Regions from separate parts of the Homo sapiens genome. Here region 1 is linked to region 2. The links are contacts of gene promoters, found by promoter capture Hi-C in blood cells and fetal thymus (Javierre and others, 2016). All regions are on one chromosome and are shown on one strand. The core of a region is centred on a gene start or on the middle of the fragment in contact, and the rest is flanking DNA. Distances in the headings are between cores, read along the strand shown. Region 1 overlaps NIPSNAP2 (nipsnap homolog 2). Region 2 holds the start of LANCL2 (LanC like glutathione S-transferase 2).

What was found. The method cuts DNA at HindIII sites, captures the fragments that hold promoters and counts their contacts. A CHiCAGO score of 5 or more calls a contact.
Region 1: a contact is called between a fragment that was not itself captured here and the fragment with the promoter of LANCL2 in region 2, in 1 of 17 cell types (naive CD4 T cells). The highest score is 5.0, in naive CD4 T cells.

The regions. Positions count from the first base shown.
Region 1 is chr7:55,979,180-55,983,585 of GRCh38, forward strand. It overlaps NIPSNAP2 (nipsnap homolog 2), which reads left to right. Exons shown (of 10, transcript NM_001483.3): 4 at 2,294-2,388; 5 at 3,031-3,101. Among named protein-coding and RNA genes, the nearest start is that of NIPSNAP2, 17 kb to the left of the region's middle. The HindIII fragment of the contact is 617 bases long and covers 1,478-2,094 here.
Region 2 is chr7:55,363,306-55,367,807 of GRCh38, forward strand. It overlaps LANCL2 (LanC like glutathione S-transferase 2), which reads left to right and starts at 2,032. Exons shown (of 9, transcript NM_018697.4): 1 at 2,032-2,924. The coding sequence starts at 2,721. RefSeq lists enhancers at 1,957-2,146, 2,767-3,226, 3,257-3,496 and a silencer at 2,217-2,636. The HindIII fragment of the contact is 19,398 bases long and covers 1-4,502 here.

The sequences.
Region 1 (4,406 bases), core at 536-3,035, 620 kb after region 2:
TGTAACAATAGCATTGAATTTCTTGCTCATTCCAGCACATTTCTCTTTATTAAAAAATGCCCTTAAAACAAAGCAGATGTTTATTTCTAAGTCTTTTCTCATAAAAATGGAATTTTTCCCTATGCCGATGTTGTCCTGGATTACCTTTTTTGTCCTGTCTTATCACTTCGTCTCCTGTCTCGGGTTTCTGGCTGTCTGTTCCTATTTCTATTTGATGTTGTGCTCTCACTTCACACCCAGCATGTAGAATCACCTTGCTCTTCCAACTTCCCTGTCTGTGCCACTCACCTTGTTTTACTCAGCCCGTTCCTTAGTTCTCTGTGGTGAATCTGTCACCTAAGCTGTGCATTCTTCATCGGACATGTATTTTGGTTCTCTTGTTTCCTTCTCCATCTCTCTCTCCAAGCCTCTCGAGCCCCATTCCCAAGTAGCTTTTTTTCTGACTACCTTTCTGGGCTCCAAGCTATACCTGTGTCTCCTTCCTGCCCTGCAATACATTACCCCAAAGTTTGTCAGATTGATCTGCTTGAGTTCTGTTTTCTTTTTTCATCACGTTTTTTCTTTTCTCTGAAACTTTCAGCAGCTCCCTGTTTGCAGAACATAAAGACTTAACTCCTGCCTGGTTTTTAGGGGTCCCAATAATGGGATTCTGCCCAACCCATCCAGTTCTGGGTACAAGTACTGCCTGCCTTACAATCTCCATTCAGGTAAGGCCAGGGCTCCTAAGAGCAGGTTTGGGGTCCCCAGCAAAGAGGAGTGGCTACAAATCCATGCGTGACTTTGTGTTGGTGAAAAACCTGGGCCCCGTTGCCAGGCCCCTTTCTGGACCCCACCTGAATCATGTGTACTGGGCTTCCTCCTGGGCACTGCCTCCAATGCAGGGTTGTCTATTCCTGCTCATGTCATGCGACGAAAAGGAAATGTTGGACATACATTTCCCTAGCAGAATCCCTCTTTCCCTGTCCTCGATTTTCATTGATCCCATGTTATTTCTGAACATTCATGAGTCACGCATCAGATACATTTAATATCAGATCCTAATTTAAAAAGTAAATGCTACTCTTCCAAAAGTACACATGATGTGGTCACTATACTGGGTCATAAAGATGTATGGGTTTTCAGTTAGTTAGACTTAGACCGTTTTGGAACTTTTCTCTGTTAACCATTTATGTATCCCTGGTCGTATGGAGCTCCAGTGGTGCAGTCGGTTAGCACATGGTACTTACATACCCTTGGTCCTGTAGCCCCAGCATCTGGTGGTGATCACTAGCTAAATATCAGAGTCAGCAAATAGTGTGAACAGGTTCCATTTCTTGCCCTTGATCCCCTTTTGCATCCATTGTTGAATCTGTATGATACTTTTTCATCATAATTTTTCTATTCAAAAAGTGTGCAGGTTTTAGCTTTTCTCTTGGTGTAAAACAGTTACACTCTTCCCTTTGCCTTTCCCTGTACATTAGAATCTATACCATAGGAAAGCTTCCATGGAACCAAGCTCCACTCTGACACCCCTGTTAAATTCATACACTGCCGTGACCTGTCATGGCTTTGTCCCTGTCCCTGCACAATGCGCGGGAATGAATTGGTTGGTGTGTTCGGTGCGAGACTACGTGACACCCCTCCCATCCCCTTGGCCCATTGAATTGAGTAGAACATAATTTATGCTTCGCATTGTATCTTTAATTTTTATTCTTCTGCCATGTTGATGCCCTTGGGGAGTATTGGAGGTTGGAGTCGCTTCCAGACTATGTTGTGTTCCAGCTGTCTTCTTGCTCCTTCCTGAAGGCCAGCTTGTTCTCTGCTCCTGTTACCTCTGCCTGCTGGTACTGCTTGTGTTGTCTGCCTCTGTCTTGAACATTACTTTCCTCCCTTTCCATCTTCCTTATTTCTTCTGTGTTCTTTTCTACTATTCCCCGTCTCTCATTCTTCTGTCTTTGGAACCAACAGAATGTTTTTTGGTGATGTCGTTTTTTTTCCCCTCAAATGGAAAATAGTAGACCCATAGCTCCCAAAATCCTGGGACCTTTGGTTTTTCTTTATCATCATTATACTGATTGAACAACTCTTCTAGATAGTTGGGGTATCAGAAACCTAAGCTTCTGATCAGCAGGGTGTTGGAATACAACATAATTCAGCTAAAAGGTTAACTCCACATGCCGTTTTATCATGATGTTCTAAGGTCAGTTGTTAGAACACAGAGTAGGTGGTCTTTTTCCTGTTACTGATCAGGTGCTGTCCACCTGGTCAAATTTTGCTGGTTGTTTAATTAGTGTTGCTGTTTCTTCTCTTTAAGTCAAGAGGTGTTGCCAAAGATTCACGAAGATAAACACTACCCTTGTACTTTGGTGGGGACTTGGAACACGTGGTATGGCGAGCAGGACCAAGCTGGTAGGAAGCGAAGTCTTTGGAATAAACACTTCTTCCTTAAGCCTTATGTAACACTTAAGTAATTTTCTAATTTAATGCTTGTTCTTATCATCAAAGCTTTCCAAGTCTCAGTCTAATTTTATGATTAAAGTAGTTTCTTCAACAATTCATTGCGAAAATGGTTTTAAAATTGTTTTTAATGTTTGAATCTATTATTGAACCATTATGATGTAACTCATAGGCCAAAACATGGGGCATTACAGTTTTTTTGTTTTTTGAGACAGAGTCTTGCTCTGTTGCCCAGGCTGGAGTGCAGTGATGAGTATCTAGGCTCACTGCGACCTCTGCCTCCCGGGTTTAAGCGATTCTTCTGCTTTAGCCTCCCAAGTAGCTGGAAATACAGGTGCCCACCACCACACCCAGGTAATTTTTGTATTTTTAGTAGAGACAGGGTTTCACCATGTTGGCCAGGCTGGTCTGGAACTCCTGACCTCAAGTGATCCGCCTGTCTCAGCCTCCCAAAGTGCTGGGATTACAGGCATGAGCCACCACACACCCAGCCTACAGTTTTGTGCTGTGTTAACGTTATACCTATCTAGAACATTTTCAAGTAGTAGTATCATGAAATTCTAAACGTATACTGTCTTTTAAAATGCATTTCAGTCCACCTCTGGAGGTATGAAGGAGGCTATCCAGCCCTCACAGAAGTCATGAATAAACTCAGAGAAAATAAGGTAATGATATTGAAAAATGTTTACTTAGACTAATGATATATAGATGTTAGTACAGAATTAAATGACTTTTCTGTCTTCAGTTTTTGTTAATAAACTTCATTTTTTTGTAACAGAAATTTTATTGTTTGGACTCCTGAAGTTGTATTTAAACATAAACAGTTGTAATACTATTCAAACAACAATTCTGACCGGGCGCGGTGGCTCACGCCTGTAATCCCAGCACTTTGGGAGGCCAAGGCAGGCGGATCACAAGGTCAGGAGATTGAGACCATCCTGGCTTACACAGTGAAACACTGTCTCTACTAAAAAAAATACAAAAAAATTAGCCGGGCTTGGTGGCAGGCACCTGTAGTCCCAGCTACTCGGGAGGCTGAAGCAGGAGAATGGCGTGAACCCGGGAGGTGGAGCTTGCAGTGAGCTGAGATTGCGCCACTGTACTCCAGCCTGGGCGACAGAGCAAGACTCTGTCTCAAAAAAAAAAAAAAAATTCTTATTGTTCTTATTATAAAAGTCAATTATGCTTTGAAACTGATAAGGTGGTACTTTGAAACCGGTGACTGGGCTGGGTGCGGTAACTCATGCTTGTAATCCCAGCACTTTGGGAGGCCAAGGCAGGCATATCAGTTGAGGCCAGGAGTTTGAGACCAGCGTGGCCAACATGGCAAAACCTCATCTCTACTAAAAATACAAAAATTAGCCGAGCATGGTGGTGCACAACTGTAATCCCAGCCACTCGGGAGGCTGAGGCACGAGAATTGCTTGAACCCAGAAGGCAGAGGTTGCAGTGTGCCGAGACTACACCGCTGCACTACAGCCTGGGCAGCAGAGTGAGACTCTGCCTCAAAAAAACAACACAAAAAAAACCCCCAAAAGACTGGTGACTGGTGTATCAATCAGCATGGCAGGCACAATTAGCTCTGGATGACCTAAAACTGTCTAATTCAGGAACTGTTTGTCACACACATAGAGTTTATCTTGGGCTGACTTTGCTTTCCACCCTCCCTTCACTAGCAGGTGTTTGTCAATAGGGAGAAATTTAAAAGCCACACATCATTAAGAAAGAAATTCTTTTGTATAGATTCCCAGACAAATATAAATAGGTTTTGAATTATCTGCTCTTTTGTAGTCTGCATGCTACTTCTATTGATGTGCCATCAAACACTGTTAGAAGAATCTAAAAATATAGCAAATTAAATTTGTTTGCATTGCCACCTAAATAATTAGGATGACCAAGTAATTTGTCATCTAAACCTGGACACTTTTGAGAATGAAAAGGAATGCTGTTAATGATTATGCAAGCTCAAC
Region 2 (4,502 bases), core at 782-3,281:
TCCCCGCCCCCCAGTGACCTCCCACCTCCGGGGTTCCTCTCCGCCTTGCTGCCTGCTTTGGCTTTAGAAGGGAGCTCAAGCTCAGCGGCTTTTGGGGCAGCCACGTTAGGTGCTGGGGAATGGAAGAGGATGACACTGCCTATTTTGACTCAGATCTTCAAGGATGAGCACACCCTCCCCTGGTAGCAACTTCTGCACCCGCCGGCCACCCCGTAGGGCCCTGCCCCGCACCGCACCCGGTGGCCTCCCCGGAGGGCCGTGACCCAAGCACCGCACCCGGCGGCTTCCCCAGGTGCTGCTCCGCCCAGTGCCCCCCCAGATCTCAACGTGGTGCCACAATGCCGCCCTCTCGCACATCGTGTCCTTGGACTATGTCTTCCTTTGAAAGGTCAGTTGCCAGGGGCCCTCACGACTCCTTGGGTGTGCTTTGGGCCGGCATGTATGTCCTCTTGCCCTTCTCTTACACAGAAGAGTGGGGAGGGTGTCCTAAGAATTTGGCTTGTCCTAAGGAAAATAAAGTTGTAATTTCAAGGCACTGACCAAGGTCTCTGTACTACTCAAGAGCTCAAGAGTGGCCACGGGGGAAGATAGCCCTGGGTGTAAAAGGGCCGCAGAAGGGAATCCCCTGTGCTCTGCATTAAAAAACCCCCAGGGGACAGGAGGCTGAAGAAAGGGAACCTACCACTTCTCCATAAAATAGTGTCAGTGAGCTGTCCAGGAGGGCAGGGGATCTGCCGATAAGAGAGCATTTAGGAAAATATGCCGACTCCTTAAATTGGGTTTCGATTTTTCAGCTTTTGAAAATATTGGTTTTCTTTAGGACAGGTTTCTGTACTTGCCAACAGTTGCCAGTTATCCACCAGCAGACTGCAGGAAGAAGAGACAATCTTCACCTCCCTCCTGGGTAGGGAGAGCTGAGAATTCACTAGGCTTAGCCTAACAAAGCCCGCAGTGGACGTTTCTGCTGTACCTGTCCAAGGCGTGATAGTTCCCCAGACTTTGGGGAATATCACCGTGGGTTATTTTGTCTAGTTAAGTCCCTGTGGTGGGATAAGGATGGCTCCTAGAGCATGTCGGCATCAGTAGTTCCTGGAGTGGATTTTCCTACACCGTCTAGGTATGAAAATTTGGTGGGAGAAAAGACCCCAGGAAAGGGGAAAGCAGGAAAGTGGAGCTAAGGGATGCTGCTATAACACTCATCCTGTTGTATCTGTTCTGTTTCCCTGAACTTTGAAGATAGTTATGCTGAGTACCCCCTTTAAAATGATTTTCTTCTACACTGTACCTTCCCATGGTCATGTTCTTGGTGGGGTGTGTTTCACATGTCCAGCCCTGTGGGGTTGGGGGGACACTAGAAGAGGTAGTGGGAAGCCAGACTTTCCCACATCATTCCACCGAGGCCACGGAGGCAGGAGGAACCGAGCCTTCCCTGTGCTCGGCACTGTGTTTTTCTTCATCATGTCACTTTTTACATTAACGTGTATTTTTGCTTGCTTCCAGAAAAGCACCTACATCAGCTATGCTGTAATCCTTGCTTTTCTCACCCAATAACTGGGAATCCCCAGAGAGCCAAAACTATCTTTTTAATCTCTTATTTCTTCATCACCTAGTACCATTTGGTGCTCAATCAACGTTTACTGAGCGGAAGAAAACGGAAATAAGACATTTTCCTCAAGGAGCAGAAATCATTACACGTATTTGGTCCAAACAAATAAAAATAAAGAGAACCAATGAAGACTGAAGTAAACCACATCACGATTACATAAATGTAAAGATCTGGTTGCTTGTGTCCTTTTTATAATACATACTATGATCTTTGCCAATTAACACTGGAGGACTCTTTCTGGTCGATAAAATGTTTGGATAATTAAGTATGCTTTCATTTTATGTCCCGGTATCAAAGATGTCCATTTATTCAAAACAAAGGGAGTGAACATAAAACATAAAAAGAAAAAAAAAAAGGCCTGTGGCTCCTCCTCCCAGACACCCCCCTCCAACAGTGATGAATAGGAGGGACTGTCTCCCTCCCCCATCCCTCGGAGACTAGCCTTGCAGTGTTTTAGACTGTTTTGAAATTCTGTTCTTTAGAAGAGATTTTTTTTTTCTTCTTAATATCAAACAAAGAACTGCTGCTATTCCTTTGGGCTGGCGCAGCAGGGGCCGGTGAAATGCAGGCTGACGACGGCGCGCCAGGGGCTGAGCTCGCCCCGGTCGGCGACGCGCACACACCTTGAGTGACAGCGACCTCTTCTCTACAGGTTTTCCCCGCGGGAGCGTGGCCCTAGCGGGCGTTCGGTTTTCTTTGGAAATCGCGGAGGGGGCTGGCCGGGCGCAGCGATCCCCACCCCGGGACTCCAGCCCCGGCCGTGCGCGTCGCCGCGGACGGGCTCTGCGGGCCACGGGGAAGGTGCGAGGAGGCGCGAGCAGGCTGTGAGCCGCTGGGCGCTCCCGCGAGCCCGCTCCTCTCCGTCGGGAGCAGGGCAAAGGCGCCAGGAACAGGGCAGAGGCACAGCGCCCACCGCCTCTGCGGCCGCCTGATGTGCGAGCAGCCCGCGACGAGGCAGTGCACGCTCAGACGCCCCGCTCCTCCCGCCAGCGCGCGGCCTCGCTCCTCCTAGAGGACGCTCTCTGCGCGGGCCCTCGGAGGAGGCGGCGGCGGGGCGAGCTGCAGCGCCGGGACAGGAGGTTTGTCCCCGCCCGCGCGCCGTACCGCGGCGGAGATGGGCGAGACCATGTCAAAGAGGCTGAAGCTCCACCTGGGAGGGGAGGCAGAAATGGAGGAACGGGCGTTCGTCAACCCCTTCCCGGACTACGAGGCCGCCGCCGGGGCGCTGCTCGCCTCCGGAGCGGCCGAAGAGACAGGCTGTGTTCGTCCCCCGGCGACCACGGATGAGCCCGGCCTCCCTTTTCATCAGGACGGGAAGGTGAGTCGGCGGCCTGGCCGCAGAGGCGCCGGAGGGGGAGCGCGGCGGTGGTAGCGTCCACCTTCCGCCAGGCGTGACGTCACAGGCGCGCGCCGGGCTTGGGAGGGCGCGGGATGATAGCGCCTAGCACCTGTCTCCGGGCCTTCCCGATGAGCCGCGCTTAGGGTCCGTGGGCTTCAGCTGCATGAACCACGTTCCAGCAGTTCGGCCCTCCTGGCCCCAACGCGCCTTTGAAATACGCGGACAGTGCGCTTTCCTTCTTGGCCCGAGCGGCGCTTCGCAATGCGGGCTTGTGCACTCGTGAGGCCCGCGGACACCTCCCGCCCCTGCGCGGCGGAGCGCTCCGCCGGCTACCTGCTCCTCAGAAGTGGCCTGGAGGCTGGATTTCCTTGGCCATATCTGGTCCCTGGGCTCTCGCCGACAAAGAAGCATTGTCCGTACTGTCTGTGTGCCCAGAAATGGGAAGCGGGTGTAAGGGGAGGCCAAACTTGACTTTCTTAGTGTCGCGAGGTGGGTCAGAGCGTTACATTGACATAAAACAGATTAACAACAGAAAAACATACATCTCTTGAATATGTTTTACGTGAAAAAGACACAAAGAAATGGCAAAACCCAAATACTTTTGTGCTAGGCAGAACCAAGAGCGGCAGCTGTGGGAGAGTAAAGTGTGCGGGGAGGCTAATGGAAGATGGAACTGCTTGAACCACGTCTAGGTAGAAATCTCCGCCTTGCTCGGCTCTGGTGCCGAGTGTTTCTTTGTTCCTGGTGTAGGGAGGCCATGTTTTACAGGAGTTTTCTCTTGTTTCATGAAGAAAAGGGGGCAGTTTAGAGCACTCTTCTGTTTTTCAAGTGCTTTTAGCTTAAAATAATCCTTATGCCAGAGACATATTTTTGGGATGGCATACCCTGTCACCCTTCACGGGCTATCTGAACAGAATCTAACGTGGGAGGCAAAAAGTGGGAATAAAACAGAAGATTGAATATCAGCACAACTGTTTTCATGCTTGGTAAAACCGTACCTTTACCAGGTTTTCTTTTTCCACTGAGGTACGTGTTCCAATGGCCACTTCACCTCCTTGGATCTCCATGTATTTCATATTTGGCTAAAACTAAGAAGGTAATTTTGAAAGAGCCATTGGTCTGAATATGGAATCTAAGGCAAGTGACTTCTGTAAACCTCTCTCTTCTTGAATGTGGTTAAAAACTCGAAACAGGCCGGGCGCGGTGGCTCACGCCAGTAATCCCAGCACTTTGGGAGGCCGAAGCGGGCTGATTGCTTGAGCCCAGCAGTTCGAGACCAGCCTGGCCAACATGGCAAAACACCGTCTCTACAAAAGAAAAATACAAAAATTAGCCGAGCGTGGTGGTGGACGCCTGTTCAGCTACTCAGGAGGCCGAGGTATGAGAATCGCTTGAGCCTCGGAGGTCGAGGTTGCAGTGAGTGGAGATTGCGCCATTGCACTCCAGCCTGGGCGACAGAGCTAGACGCAGTCTCAAAAACCAAAAGCAAGCAAACCTGTGGGAACAAGTCCTAACTGATGGGGATGTGTCTGAATTAGATGAAGCATATAAATTGCC